Regions from separate parts of the Homo sapiens genome. Here all the other regions are linked to region 5. The links are contacts of gene promoters, found by promoter capture Hi-C in blood cells and fetal thymus (Javierre and others, 2016). All regions are on one chromosome and are shown on one strand. The core of a region is centred on a gene start or on the middle of the fragment in contact, and the rest is flanking DNA. Distances in the headings are between cores, read along the strand shown. Region 1 overlaps ARFGAP3 (ARF GTPase activating protein 3). Region 2 holds the start of LOC101927393 (a long non-coding RNA gene). Region 3 overlaps ARFGAP3 (ARF GTPase activating protein 3). Region 4 overlaps ARFGAP3 (ARF GTPase activating protein 3). Region 5 holds the start of CYB5R3 (cytochrome b5 reductase 3).

Region 1 (2,869 bases), core at 285-2,784, 170 kb after region 5:
GGCTTCTTTCTTAGCATAAACTTTTCAAGGTTTATCCATGTTGTGGCCAATATCAGGACTACATTCCTTTTTGTGGCTGAGTAATAGTCCATTGTATGGACATACCACATTTTCTTTCTCATTTATCAGTTGGTAGACATTTAGCTTATTTCTACTTTTTGGCTATTAGGATTAACGCCACTATGAACATTCATGCACGAGTTTGTGTGTGGTTGCACAGATGTAAGTTTTAATTTCTCTTGAGTATATACTTAGGAGTAGATTTGCTGGGTCACATGGAAACTTTACATTTAACTTTCTGAAGGACTGCCAAACTGTTTTTCACAACAGTGGCACCATTTCACATTGCCATCAGCAATGTACAAGGGTTCAAATTTCTCCACATCCTAGCCAACACCTGTTACTGATTTTTTTATTATAGCTTCCCTAGAGAGTACACAGTGGTATCTTATTGTGGCCTTGATTTGCATTTCCCCAACTCTAATAATGTGAAGCATGTTTCATGTGTAAACACCTCCATGCATCTCTGTCTTTCCCTTCTCACTGATGTCACTCCAGTCTTGCCCTTACAGCCTCAGCAGAGTGTTGCTGCCCCCATCGTCTCTTTCCCTTCCAATCCACATGCCAATGCAATATCAGTTTTCATAAAACTGAATTTTGCAGTACCCTCCCTTCCCCCCCCACACAAAAATACATGGCATTTGGAAAGCAAAATCTTGAGTTAATAGTTTTATTCCCTGAAAATGTATTAATATAATGAAATTAAACTTACATTGATTCTTCTTTAGATACCACCTTGGCCAGGTCTTCCTGCTCCTTCATTTTATCCGCAGCTTGAGCTTGTTTTTCAATTTCATTAAAGCATGTGTTTGCCAGTTTCTGAGCTCCCAAACTTCCTTTTTTGGCCCCAAGCTAGAACATATATAAGACTATAGTCTACACGAGCTGTTTGAAAGCTTCTGTGACTACAGCTAACATTTCCTAAGGGTTAGGACCTGCCAGGCACTGTGACAAGCACTCTACATTTGTTCTGTGGCTTAGTCCTCAGAACTCTGTGAAGTTAGTATTATTCCAGGAGTCCCTCAGCATGGGGGAATTGGTTTCACGACCCTGTGGATAACAAAATCTGCGATGATCAAGTCCCTTACGTAAAAGGGCGTAGTATCTGCATTTAACCCACGTGTAGCCTCCAGTATACTTTCAATCATCTCTAGATTACTTATTATGCCTAAATAATGTAAATGCTATGAAAATAGTTACTAATTCTGTGTTTTTATTTGTATTGTTTTTACTGTTGTATTCTTACTTTTTATTTTTTTTTACTTTTTTTGAGACAGGCTCTCATGCTGTTGACCAAGCTGGAGTACAGTGGCACAATCTCAGCTCACTGCAACCTCTGCCTCCTGGGGTAAAGCGATCCTCCCACCTTAGTATCCCGAGTAGCTGGGACTACAGGCACGGGCCACCAAATCCGGCTACTTTTTGTATTTTTTGAAGAGATGGGATTTCACCATTTTGCCCAGGCTGGTCTTGAACTCCGGGGCTCAAGTGATCCACCTGCCTCGGCCTCCCAAAGTGCTGGGATTACAGGCGTGAGTCACTACGCCTGGCCTATTGTTTTTTTTTCCCCCCCAAATAATTTTGATCTGCAATTGGTTGAATCCATGGATGCAGAACCCCTGGATACAGAGGGCTGAGGAAAGTAAAGCTCATATAAGTTAAGGAATGTGGCCAAGGTCACACAGCCAATACATGGCAAGGCCAGGATTCAAACCCTGCACCTGCCTCCAGAGCTGGTGCTCCGCAATGCTTCGCTGTATCTGAAAACTCACCAGACAACCACCCTCTAAGCCTCACAAGATGTCATTGCTTATTGATCTACACAAGCAGGAGACAAATTCCCAGGGGACCTTTGTTAATTTTTTTCAGAATTTTGTCATAGACAGAAAAAATGTTAAATAATCATTCTAGAAAAAATTCAATAAGTATAACATTAATCTCTTTGACATTAATCTCTTTGAACAAAACATAGACTCCTTATATCAAAGCTACATTTATTACAAGATGGTTCAAAAGAATAAAACTAAAATGACGAAGCGGCTTTTTAGTTTTAAAGCTTAACTACCAGATTTTTATATATAAAGTACATAATACTCACGCCTTTTTTAGCTTGATTTGGTTTCTTTTTTATGATAGAGGATACCTCTGCCAAAAAATAAAAATTAAAAAGTAAGACCAATAGAAATAATTTTTCTTTTTTAGTGTGTCTTTTAAAATTCTAAGATACTGCACTTTATTATTTAAGAGATGATAACATTTTCCACTTTAGTTTCTCATCCAGAAGACTCAAGTTGATAAGCATATTTTGGATTAACAGAACTTTGTCAAAATGGTGTCCTCAGTATTTCCACGCAGTCTCCAAACTCAGAGAAAATGTATTTTTTTTTTTAACAGCACACTGAAGAGAAATAGAGCCTGAGCTTGCCCCTCTCAGTACTTTCTTCAGGAGCATTTAAAAAATATATTACAACAACTTTTTTTTTTTTTTTGAGACAGGGTCTCGCTCTGTCACCTTAGCTGAGTGCAGTGGCATTACCTCCCAGATCAAGGGAGCCTTCCACTTCAGCCTCCTGAGTAGTTGGGATCACAGGTGCGCACCACCACATCTGGCTATTTTTTTTTTTTTTTTTTTTTTTTTTTAGAGATGGGTGTCTTGCTATGTTGCCCAGACTGGTCTTGGACTCCTGGGCTCAAGTGATGCTCCTGCCTCAGCCTCTCAAAGTGCTGAAATTATGAGTATGAGCCACCATGCCACAACTCTTTTATCAAGTGCTACTCTTCAAAAACTTTAAAACACTTAAAAATCTAA
Region 2 (2,700 bases), core at 166-2,665, 220 kb after region 5:
GTAAGTAAAAAGTGGAGAGCACACAGTAGGTGCTCAGGAAAATGTGCTCATAGGAGAGTTATGGGTGATGTCAGTCTTGTCCTGCTGTTTGGGCTGGGGCAATAGAGAGGCGCCAGCCGATGCCCGCACCATGTGGAAGCCCAGGTCAAACAGCAGCAGGTCTCGGGGAGAAGGGAACCCCAAGGGGCTCAGGTGCCTCAAATCCCCAACCTCCAGTTTGGCAGGGGCAGTGGGCCGTGGCCTTTTGGGCAGGGGTCCTGTGCCCTGGATCTTGCCCAGCTCCAAAGCTAGTAAGCCCCAGGGAGGCCACCCCCGCCAAGTGAAGTGGGCATGAAGACAGATGATGGCGAAGGGACTTCCATATGCACGAGATCAACTGTTTATTGATTTTTTTCCTCAAATACTACACATGTAAAGGAACTGTTAAACTGAAAAAGACTTGACAATTTTTGGTAAATCCGTAGCACAGAAATGAGGATTTCTGCTGGTAAGTTCTCAGGACAGACACAGACACAGGTCCACTTTCCAAGCAAGACATCTGCTCACTGGAAACGGAGTGAATGCATAGCTGGTGACGGCGGCGGGCACTGCTGAGTCACGTGAAACACAGGTTCCCCCACGTTCCCCCCACCCCCGCCGGCCCGCGTGGCCCCCGCGTAACTCTGGCTGCAGCACCTGCTCCCGGGCGACTCCGGGCAGCCCGAGACACTCGTGCTGCGGGTAAGACCCAGCTTCTGTTTGTGCACAAGTAACACGACGACTGAAATCTGCAACTACTGCAAAGACGCGGGCACTTTTACAGTGTTCTGCTACGGAGCCAGGACAAAGGCCGGTCAGAAGCCGGACCAGCAGTCAGCTGGTGACGACGAGCCTCCCTCCAGCAGGCACCACGTCAGAGAGGCCCCAGGCCCACTGAGCCCGGGAGGAGACCCAGCCGGCCAGCCAGACGTGTGCCTGAATGCCACAGACTTCAAGCAGTTTACAAACGAAACTCACTGTTAAAAGCTGTTAAATCTCATTAAAACAGTAGACGAGTGCTTTAGATTCTCTGAATATCAAATAATATATACAGATAGACACTGAGACATGACAGTCTAATCTAAAGCATCTTTACAGATGCATTTGCTTGAAAAGTTAGTCTTCTTTTTAACTCTGAATCAGTGATAAAATTGTTAATTTGCAAAAGAGTACAGTTTTAAGCAAGAATAGAGTGAAAATAATTTTTAAATATGGCGATTTGGGGGAGTTCTACCTAAGGTTCTATGTAAAGCTTCCATTCAGATGCCCAAAAGCACAAAGAGCATTCCCAATAGAAACCCGACCATAACCCGGTCCCACCTTCCTGGCATAATTCCTTTCCTCAAACATCTGCCACCTGAGGCTAAGCCTACACACGGCGTGGCTGAGTAACAGGGTAAGGGAATAGGGAGATCGTTTCCTCAAGACTGGTGCGCATCAATCTGTGCCATAATTTAAGTAGAAATGAACAGGTGTATAAAAAAGTATAACTGTACACAGCCTTTAAATTAAAAACCTCAAAATCTTCACTCAAAATGGGATGTAAGCTTGTTCATTTAAGTTGCAGGTGATGGACTCGTCAGAGAGAGTAATCAGTGGAACAAGATCAGTGTAACCCACCATTGACTCGGAAAGGAGAGACAAAGTCAAGAACATAGAGATCTATGATAGGCCAACAGGCACAGTGGGCGGGGAGGGGCGGCTATTTCTGTTGTTCTGCGTCTTCCTGCGCTCAGATCCCTCCAGCTGCACTCGGAAAGGTGCCGAGTCCCAGGCGAAATGACCAGCTCATCTGCCTTCCAGGAACACCATGAAGCCAAGAGCAATGGAACCATCATCTCTTGCAGGAAAAGGAGTGGATGCCCACGTGGCTGGCTGAGGCTCCTGGGCCCGCCGCCTCCGTCCCCCCGCTGGCCTGTCCCCGACTCATCACTGGATCGCCTCCACATAATTTGCCGGGTATAGGCCAACTTGCCCGTTGTCCAAGCGTCCCTTGCACCAGCCCTGCTCATCCTCGTCCTCCATCTTGGTCAGCTCATCCCCTGCAAGACAAAGAGGGAGCCGTCTCCATGAGAGGTATGACACCGACGGTGGGCTACAGAGCCGCATTCACGAGCTTTGAGCCCACAGAGGGTGGAGGGCCAGGCATTCTGTGGCGGGCAGGCCGAGGGCCTGGTCATTTCTCTACTAAATGCATGCATTTTAAGTTGCCTCTTTGGTCATGGGCCTCTGACAGACCTAGAGATGACAGTCTCACACAGTAATTTGGAACAAGCTGCTCTCAGCTGCCACAGTGGCTCCCACTGAGACTGCGGCATCCAGCTCCATAGGGCTGTGCCTTCCTCACCACCCTGGCCAGGTGGCAGGAATCGTCCCTCGGTTGTGCCCCTCCCTCACGTTGGGCCTCTTCTGTCCCCTCCCCAGGGCCCCGGCCGCCTTGCTCCCAGCAGCTGTCTCTGGGGTCTCTCTGCCTTTGCTAATCCCTCTCCTCTGCAACTTCCAGGCTGCGAGGGGAAGGGACCATGTCTGACAGTCATACCTGTCATTTTATCCCCAGCACCTGGCTGATGACTTGTGCACGGTGCCATGTGTCAACCCTTCCTGAGACCCTGAGAAGGAGCCCCTGGCGCTGTTCTGGAATCTCCCTGTGGCTCTAATGTATTAACGTGGTTCCATTTATCT
Region 3 (2,700 bases), core at 139-2,638, 190 kb after region 5:
CCGTGCCCAGCTGGGGATCTTGTTTGTCTTGTCTGTCACTATATCCCCAGCAGCTAGCCAACGCTTCCTGTTTATTAGGTGTTTAACAGATTTTTGAATAAACAAGTCAACTGGGTCTGTCCAACTCCAAAACCCATCAGGCTCTCTGCTTCTTCTCATAGGGCCTCCCAAACTTTCAAGTATTGAACTCTTTTTGTTTGTTTGTTTGTTTTTTTGGGATGGAGTCTCGCTCTGTCACCCAGGCTGGAGTGCAGTGGTGTGATCTCGGCTCACTGCAACCTCTGCCTCCCAGGTTCATGCAACTCTCCCGCCTCAGCCTCCCGAGTAGCTGGGATTACAGGTGTGCACCACCATACCCAGCTAATTTTTGTTATTATTATTTTTTTTTTAGTAGAGATGGGGTTCCACCATGTTGGCCAGGCTGGTCTCGAACTCTTGACCTCAAGTGATCCGCCCGCCTCAGCCTCCCAAAGTGTTGGGATTACAGGCGTGAGACACCACACCTGACTTGTTTGTTTTTTATAAACAGAGGGTCTTGCCATGTTGCCCAGGGTGGTCTTGAACTCCTGGGCTCCAGTGATCCTCCCAAACGCCTGTAATTTCAGCCTCCCAAATGGCTGAGATTACAGGCATGAGCCACTGCACCTAGCCTGAGCTTCTTTACTATTATAGCATAACAAATATTTAAACAAGAAGGAAAATGACGAGTTTGAGATGAACTTACTGCACTAGCGTTTCCTCCGACTTGCATGCATCGCAACTGAAACCATGACCAGTTGGAATCCAACTCTGTAGATCTAAATGGAAAGAATATTACTAACTGTTAATATTTTTTATCCCCAGGAGCAAAATCAGTGAGCTTTTGAGAACAAGGTTTCCTTAGGCTTTAGGATCCTAAAGAATTCTAAGTTTGTGTCAACAAGGACCCACACTTTTGGGATGCTAGGACTCCAGAGTGGATGATGGTTGGCGTGAGCAACCCCTGGCTCCTCTCGTCCTTCCTGGAATGCAGGGCACAGGGACATGACAAGTGTCAGCGGGCTGCTGGAACGACACCAACTCTTTGCCTCCCATCCTTGGTTGGATATGATTTGAAATTTGGTAATGTGTCTCTACTTGAAACAGATGCACTGTTTGGATGTTTTCAGGTCGGTGATCTACTTGTCCAGTTTGATCGCTACCAGAAGCTTGGAGGATGCTCATTCTCTTATCACAAGGTAGAAGAGACCTACCCAACATCACGACCAGCAGAGAGAGGAAAAAACACAAGATTTCATGCTCCTGAAGTGAAAGCTACAAGCACTTCCTGCCCCTTCCACACCTTATGCCTAACTTCTCTCCACTGTAAGATCAAATCTGAAACAAGTAAAGGCAGTGAGTATAGCCTCAACAATGCACATTCCCCAAGGGGTCGACGGTAAAGCAACAATGTTAGAATCTTTATACTGAATCCACAGAAATGAGCAAAAAGCAGAGGTTGTTATTCAGTAATAGCTTGCCCTACACTAACTGTAAAGGAATGTGGATATTTTAGAATGAGTATAGGCAGAATACCTTTTACAAAATGGGCAAGGAAGAAAGAAAAGAAAAGAAGCTTTAGGTCCACCAAAACTTTCCTTTGTGCTGCCCTTATATTTACTAATTTCTTTTTTTTTTTTTTTTGAGACAGGGTCTCACTCCATCACCCAGGAATGGAGTGGTGTGATCACAGCTCATTGCAGCCTCAACCAGGATTGCTCAAGCAATCCTCCTGTCTCAACCTCCCAAGTAGATGGTAGCTACCATGCCGGGCTTTTTTTTTTTTTTTTTTTTTGAGACGGAGTTGCCCCGGCTGGAGTGCAATGGTGCGATCTTGACTCACCGCAACCTCTGCCTCCTGGGTTCAAGTGATTCTCCTGCCTCAGCCTCCTGGGTAGCTGGGATAACAGGCAGGTGTCACTACGCCCGGCTAATTTTTGTATTTTTAGCAGAGACAGGGTTTCTTCATGTTGGTCAGGTTGGTCTCAAACTCCCGACCTTAGGTGATCCACCCACCTTGGCCTCCCAAAGTACTGTGATTACAGGCATGAGCCACCGTGCCTGGCCTTTTTTTTTTTTTTTTTTTTTTAAATAGAGATAGGGTCTTGTTATGTTGCCCAAGATGGTCTAGAACTCCTGGGCTCAGGCAATCCTCCCACCTCAGCCTCTCAGTGTTGGGATTACAGGTGTGAGCCACCATGCCCAGTGAACCATACCTTTTTTTTTTTGAGACACAGCCTCGTTCTGTTGCCCAGGCTAGAGTGCAGTGAGGCGATCTCAGCTCATGGTAATCTCTGCCTTCTGGATTCAAGCAATTCTTGTGCCCCAGCCTCCAGAGGTAGCTGGGATTAGAGGCGTGCGGAACCACACCTGGCTAATTTTCGTAATTTTAGTAGAGACGGGGTTTTGCCATGTTCGCCAGGCTAGTCTCGAACTCCTGGCCTCAAGCAATCCCCTCATCTCAGCCTCCCAAAGTGCATACCATTATTAATCTAGAGTTTTACTTATAGACAATCTCAGTAATTTCCCAGCCGCCCTTTGTTTATAACTTGTTTGATTACCTCTATAAGGTCATAAAAAGCGTTGCCTTTCTACGCCAACATCATAAAAAGGTTCTCCCCAGTGTCCACCGAGCAGGAGCCCAGATTCTGCCCTGGTCATCATCAACATGTTCTAGGGCTC
Region 4 (2,700 bases), core at 87-2,586, 150 kb after region 5:
AGAGACAGATGACTTCAAATATTATTTGGCAGTCACCTTACTATGTAGAAACATAAATGAAGCAATCTGTCACACGAGACACCAGTCACTTTTGGTCTTTTGAAGGAAGTGTGTGTGGTGAGTGTTGTTTCTGCAGGCCCATCCAGCATCCGCTGATTCTGGCAGCCCTGAGCCCATGTGTCACATGGAGACCTCTCCTCCTCCCCCACATGAAGCCTCCTGGTTCAGGAGCAGGAGGAGCCGAGGTCTCCAGGCCCTCAGTGTTGAAATCAAAGGTTCCAAGAAAATAAAGCAAGGATATACACAGAGACGCCAAAGGAGGGTGTGACAGGAAGGAACGTGAAACAGAAATCACAGGAAAGCTCCTACATCAGAACTCAGAATTTCTCAAAAGAAATATTAAAAATCAGAAACATATACCATATGAAAAAGTAGCAAAACAATCTGCAAAACTATCTGGACTTCACTGCCGCCTGAGATGTGGTTACTTGTTCATTTAAAGAGGAATTTCTCCAGGAAATACACATCATGACTTCAGTATTAAGAACCGTAGCGATCCTGAAGAGAGAACCAAAATGGAAGTTCACGACCATTCAGCAGCGATCCCTGACTCCCACGCCCTGAATATTCAGCATCACCCAAATTGACACTGCAGCCCATGTCAGGCATGTGACATGGACGCTGCACCCCGAGGGTGTGCTCATCTGGAAGCAGCCATTGCTGCAGCTTCAAGGCTGAGGGTAGGTGTGGGCTTCAGAACCCAACAGGATTCACATCCTGCCTCTGGCATCCACGGCCACAGTCCTGGGATCAGGAGGCAGGGAGCAAAGTGGGCGGGAGGATGCTCAGTGGGCCAGAGGCAACTTGCTGAGCCCTCTGGGAAGCAAGTGGGAAACGGAAGACAAAGGAACACATTTGGTGTTTGAAGCCCTGAAATTTTGGTTCAGCTGGTCATCTTGCAGAAGTGACCTAACCTTCTGTGCCTCAATTCCTTCACCTGTAAAATGGGGATATAAAAGGGAGCCATCTCTAAAATGGGGATGACCATCTATAAAATAGGGATGTTACCTATTTGGACACTGATGTGGGCTTAGCTGACCTAAGGGACATGAAAGAGCTCTATGCATTTTAACTTCAGTGCCACATGAAAGGGAAGACTGTGCTATTCACAGCATGAAAACGGCTACATCCAGAGTCCTGGGGCTGAGGGAACTCTCCGGAATGGGTGCACCTCCACGCCCTCCTTGAACTGCAGCTAGAGCAGCATCTGCCTGGGGACCAGGAATCTCCTTTGGAGGCACCAGAGTCCACACGGTTTCAGTCCTACTTCCTTTAGCAGCGTTTTACATTAATACAATCCTTCTTCAATAGCCTGACGTAAACAAGAAGGTGCAAAGAAACGAGCCACTCATATCGTCACAGATGGCCTCGACTCTCATGCGCAAGTATGCGCCATCCTTGGCTTATGTTTTCACTCAATAGAATGTGGTTTTAGGAAAACTTTTCATTACAAGGAAATGCTCCCAGCATCACAGAGAAAAAGCAAGATATAAAACCCTCTATACAATATAATCCCTTTTTAACTTTAAAAAGATAGATATGTATATCTTTTTAATCTACGTATAGAAAAATATCCTTAGAAATCTAGAGCTAAAAATATACCAAAATATTAACAGAGGTTATCCCTGTGATGTGGCATTACAGATAATTTCAGTTTTCTTCTTAATACTTCTCTGTTCCAATCTAGGAAAAAAACTGGACAATGGTCATGACAATTCCTCTAACAATTCCCCTAGAGTCATCCGTTAGAAAATATTAAATATAAAATTATAATTTCTGGTTTTCATAATGTTCTGGGTTATAGTGTAGCAAACATATCGATCCAATAATATATAATTGAATTTTCCAGCAGTTGAAGATTGAAGCAGGTCTCATTTTCAAACTGCTGAACCTACCGTCATAGCCAGTGAGCACTGCCCCATTCCACTGACCTGAATTGAAGTCACGACTCCATTAGCAAAGACGGAGAGTTTTCCAGCAACCGATCTCACTCCCTGCTTGAACTGCGCCATGTCGGGGGCGTTGGGCAGCACACTGGACAGGCTGTAGTTCCCTGCACACACACAGCAGACACTGTCTCATCACTGCCCTGGCCACAGCTGCGGCAAACCCAGTACCCAGAGTGCTCAACGGCTCCAGAGAACCCGGATCTCTCCCCTCCTGCTGCCTCACAAGGGGCCCAACAGTGGGATGGAGACTCGGGCTGAAGTGGCAGCCCTGCCATGATCCACATGAGAGAATCCACACGACAGAAAATGTAGTATGGGGGACTTAACACCACTATGAGTTCAAATCCTGGCACTGTCACTTCTAGGCTGTGTGCCTCTAGAGAAGTTCCTTGCTCTCTCTGGGCCCATTTCCTCAAGGTGCTTAACATAGCCCTGGCAGGTAAGTACCCAGCAAAAGGCAGATGGGCCAACACGGATGGCCTGTTTCTCATCACCTCCTCCCTCTTTTGGTAACAGTACTCCTCCCTTCCTCCAGGAACCACCTCTCCCTTCTACCCTGTCCACAGGCATGGGCACATGACCCAGGCCTGACCAATCAGAGCCTTCCCAGGGATTCATGTATCCTCAAATGAGAAGAGCCATTTGCTTGCTCTGGGGTTATTGGCAGGGACAAAGCAAAGCAGCAGCCATC
Region 5 (2,700 bases), core at 128-2,627:
AGGACATTTCAACAATAAAGGAGGCAGATGCTTTCTGGGGAAAAATGGGCCGGGTGTTGCATGGAGGTTGGGGTGATGCCCACAGGTTCACCCTGGCCAAGGTTGCCTGGGGTCTGAACATCCCGAAGTTCTGGGTTGGGCCACACTTTCCTTAGCAACCACCCAAGCCAAGAGGCCTTTTGCCTGGATCCCCAAGGAGGAGACTCCAGGTCCTCCCCAAGGAGGGAGGACCCAGGTGCCCTCCAAGTGGCAGATGCCAGGCATAGAGGTAGAGGTGGAGGTGGAGGAGCACTGGGCTGATTCCTCCTGTGCCAGCCTCCCCACGCCTAGCGGGTCACAGTTGACAGGAGAGCTGCCCTCTGCAGCCGCAGCCTCCACATGTCCACACAGACTCAAGCCTCCAGCCTCACCATGGTCAACTTTTGAGAAACTGGGGAGAGGAGGTGGCCTGGGGGGAAGGGAAGGTGGCTCTAGGCCAGCCCAGGAGTGACAGCAGCAGAGTGGACTTTGAAACCCCATGGAGCAGGCTCCTTCCGGCGGCAGCGTTGTGGGACGGTGGCCAAGACTAGTTTGCATTTCCCCATCTGTGAAATGGGGCAAACAGCACTGACACCGCAAAGTGTGAGGTCCCCAGCACAGCTTGCAGGGTCAGTGGGAGCCTGGCCTTGATGGGAGCCTGGCCCACTGAGCATTGGGAGGATGCCCCCGTGTCATCCGGGTTCTGTTCCTTGTTGCTAAACGTGCAAAACCCTCTGACATAGTGACATCGCACACACACACACGTTCAGTCGCAGTCAGTGACATCGCCCATTCACATACTCCCGTACACACACACACACCCCATCACACGTTTCCATGCCCGCCCTTCACACCCACGGTCACACTCACACACACATTCACTCTCAAGCCATTCACACGCTCGCTCACACACTCACACTCAGCGGCACACACGCTCACAACCACGGGTCCCTCCAGCAGCCAAGGCCCCACGGCGGCCAGGGCAGGGCCCAGGTGCCCCCGGGTGCTGGGCTCTGGCGCGCCCCCCGGGCAGGAGGGCTGGGTCCCCGCTGCAGACTGCCAGGGCGTAAGTAGCGGTCACCACGTAGCTCGCCCAGGCCCTTGTGGGGTGGGGTGGGGCGCGGCGGGCTGGGCGGGCGAAGTGGGTGCGGCCGGGTGCGGCCCGGGTCCCGCGTCACCTCCCGCAGGCCAGCCCGCCCCCTCGCCGCCGGGTCCCAGTCCCTCGCGACGCCCCGCGGCCCCGGCGCCCCCTCCCCGCCTACCGTGCTGAGCTGGGCCCCCATGGTGGCCCCGCGCCGCGCTCGCTCTGTCGCCGCCGCCGCCGCCGCCGAGACCGTCGCGCCCGGGCCCGCGTCACTCCGGAGCAGGGGCGGGGCCGAGGGGCCAGGCGGGCGCGCGGGGCGGGGCGGGCGCGGGGGCGGGGACCGGGTCGCTCCGCCTGCTTCTGCCGGGGATGGAGACTGGGAACTGGGGATGCGGCCCTCTGCGCTCCGAGCTCTCCCGCCGCTGTGCTGCCCCGCGCGGGACGGTGGCCTCTCTGGGCCTCGTTCGCCGCCATAAAGGAAGCAAGATGGCGCCCCCCGGATGGGAGCGAGAATAAGAGGCGGAATCTTCCCCCGGCCTCCGAGACTGCAGGGGCCGGTCCTGCCTGGCCTGGCCTGGGCCTGTGCCTGCAGCTGCTCAGCGCGGCCCTTCCCCGGGCCTTTGAATTTGTAGTTCCCTGGGCAGCACTGTTCCCAGCTGCCTCGGGCCGGGTTAAATGCTGCGGTCTCAGCACGGCCCGCCCGGAGCCTCCTCGCCGGCGGCGCCTCCGCTCCCCACGCCATTGTCCCACTGTGGAGTGATCTTTGTCCCACTTAGCTGAAGGCCTCCTGCGTGTTTCCCCCACTCCCACCCCATCCCAGTGGACTGTGCGCTCCCGGAGGGCAAGGCCCTATCTGGTTTGAAGTCCCGTACATCCCCAGAGCCTAGCCACACAGAGCCTAGCATATAGTAGGTGCTCAATAAATACCTTTTTTTTTTTTTTTTTTTTTGGTAAAGCAGGGTCTCACTCTTGCCCAGACTGGAATGCAGGAGCCTGATCACAGCTCACTTTAGCCTCAACCTCCCAGGCTCAAGTGTTCCTCCTGCCTCAACCTCCTGAGTAGCTGGGCACATGCCACCACGTCCGGCTAATTGTTTTTTTTTTTGAGACGCAGTTTCGCTCTTGTTGCCCAGGCTGGTATGCATTGACGCGATCTCGGCTCACCGCAAACTCCGCCTCCAGGGTTCAACAGATCCTCCTGCCTCAGCCTCCCGAAATTACAGGCATGTGCCACCACATCTGGCTAACCAGCTAATCTTTTTTTTTTTTTTTTTTTTTTTTTTTTTGAGACAGAGTCTCGCCCTGTCCCCCAGGCTGGAATGCAGTGGCGCCATTTCGGCTCAATGCAAGCTCCGCCTCCAGGGTTCACGCCATTCTCAGCCTCCCGAGTAGCTGGCACTACAGGCACCCCACCGCGCCCGGCTAATTTTTTGTATTTTCAGTAGGGACGGGGTTTCACCGTGTTAGCGAGGATGGTCTCGATCTCCTGACCTCGTGATCCGCCCGCCTCGGCCTCCCAAAGTGCTGGGATTACAGGCGTGAGCCACCGCGCCCGGCCTAATTTTGTATTTTTAGTAGAGACGGTGTTTCAACATGTT

The links. The method cuts DNA at HindIII sites, captures the fragments that hold promoters and counts their contacts. A CHiCAGO score of 5 or more calls a contact.
Region 1: a contact is called between a fragment that was not itself captured here and the fragment with the promoter of CYB5R3 in region 5, in 5 of 17 cell types (endothelial precursors, M2 macrophages, erythroblasts and 2 more). The highest score is 8.5, in endothelial precursors.
Region 2: a contact is called between a fragment that was not itself captured here and the fragment with the promoter of CYB5R3 in region 5, in 3 of 17 cell types (endothelial precursors, total B cells and megakaryocytes). The highest score is 6.5, in endothelial precursors.
Region 3: a fragment that was not itself captured here is called in contact with the fragment with the promoter of CYB5R3 in region 5 in 1 of 17 cell types (endothelial precursors); the score reaches 10.2 in endothelial precursors.
Region 4: a contact is called between a fragment that was not itself captured here and the fragment with the promoter of CYB5R3 in region 5, in 4 of 17 cell types (endothelial precursors, M2 macrophages, megakaryocytes and 1 more). The highest score is 8.4, in endothelial precursors.

What each region holds. Positions count from the first base shown.
Region 1 is chr22:42,821,498-42,824,366 of GRCh38, forward strand. It overlaps ARFGAP3 (ARF GTPase activating protein 3), which reads right to left. Exons shown (of 16, transcript NM_014570.5): 8 at 2,159-2,205; 9 at 773-912. Among named protein-coding and RNA genes, the nearest start is that of ARFGAP3, 34 kb to the right of the region's middle. The HindIII fragment of the contact is 1,160 bases long and covers 955-2,114 here.
Region 2 is chr22:42,869,410-42,872,109 of GRCh38, forward strand. PACSIN2 (protein kinase C and casein kinase substrate in neurons 2) reads right to left here. Exons shown (of 11, transcript NM_001184970.3): 11 at 364-2,060. The coding sequence ends at 1,948. LOC101927393 (a long non-coding RNA gene) reads left to right here and starts at 2,005. Exons shown (of 3, transcript XR_001755575.2): 1 at 2,005-2,094; 2 at 2,576-2,676. The HindIII fragment of the contact is 295 bases long and covers 1,269-1,563 here.
Region 3 is chr22:42,840,220-42,842,919 of GRCh38, forward strand. It overlaps ARFGAP3 (ARF GTPase activating protein 3), which reads right to left. Exons shown (of 16, transcript NM_014570.5): 3 at 725-797. Among named protein-coding and RNA genes, the nearest start is that of ARFGAP3, 16 kb to the right of the region's middle. The HindIII fragment of the contact is 407 bases long and covers 1,186-1,592 here.
Region 4 is chr22:42,797,048-42,799,747 of GRCh38, forward strand. ARFGAP3 (ARF GTPase activating protein 3) reads right to left here. Exons shown (of 16, transcript NM_014570.5): 15 at 1,992-2,113; 16 at 1-558. The coding sequence ends at 541. Among named protein-coding and RNA genes, the nearest start is that of ARFGAP3, 59 kb to the right of the region's middle. RefSeq lists an enhancer at 2,496-2,700. The HindIII fragment of the contact is 2,814 bases long and covers 1-2,700 here.
Region 5 is chr22:42,648,015-42,650,714 of GRCh38, forward strand. It overlaps CYB5R3 (cytochrome b5 reductase 3), which reads right to left and starts at 1,378. Exons shown (of 9, transcript NM_000398.7): 1 at 1,281-1,378. The coding sequence starts at 1,301. RefSeq lists silencers at 889-1,238, 1,259-1,448, 1,759-1,858 and an enhancer at 1,553-2,366. The HindIII fragment of the contact is 5,222 bases long and covers 1-2,700 here.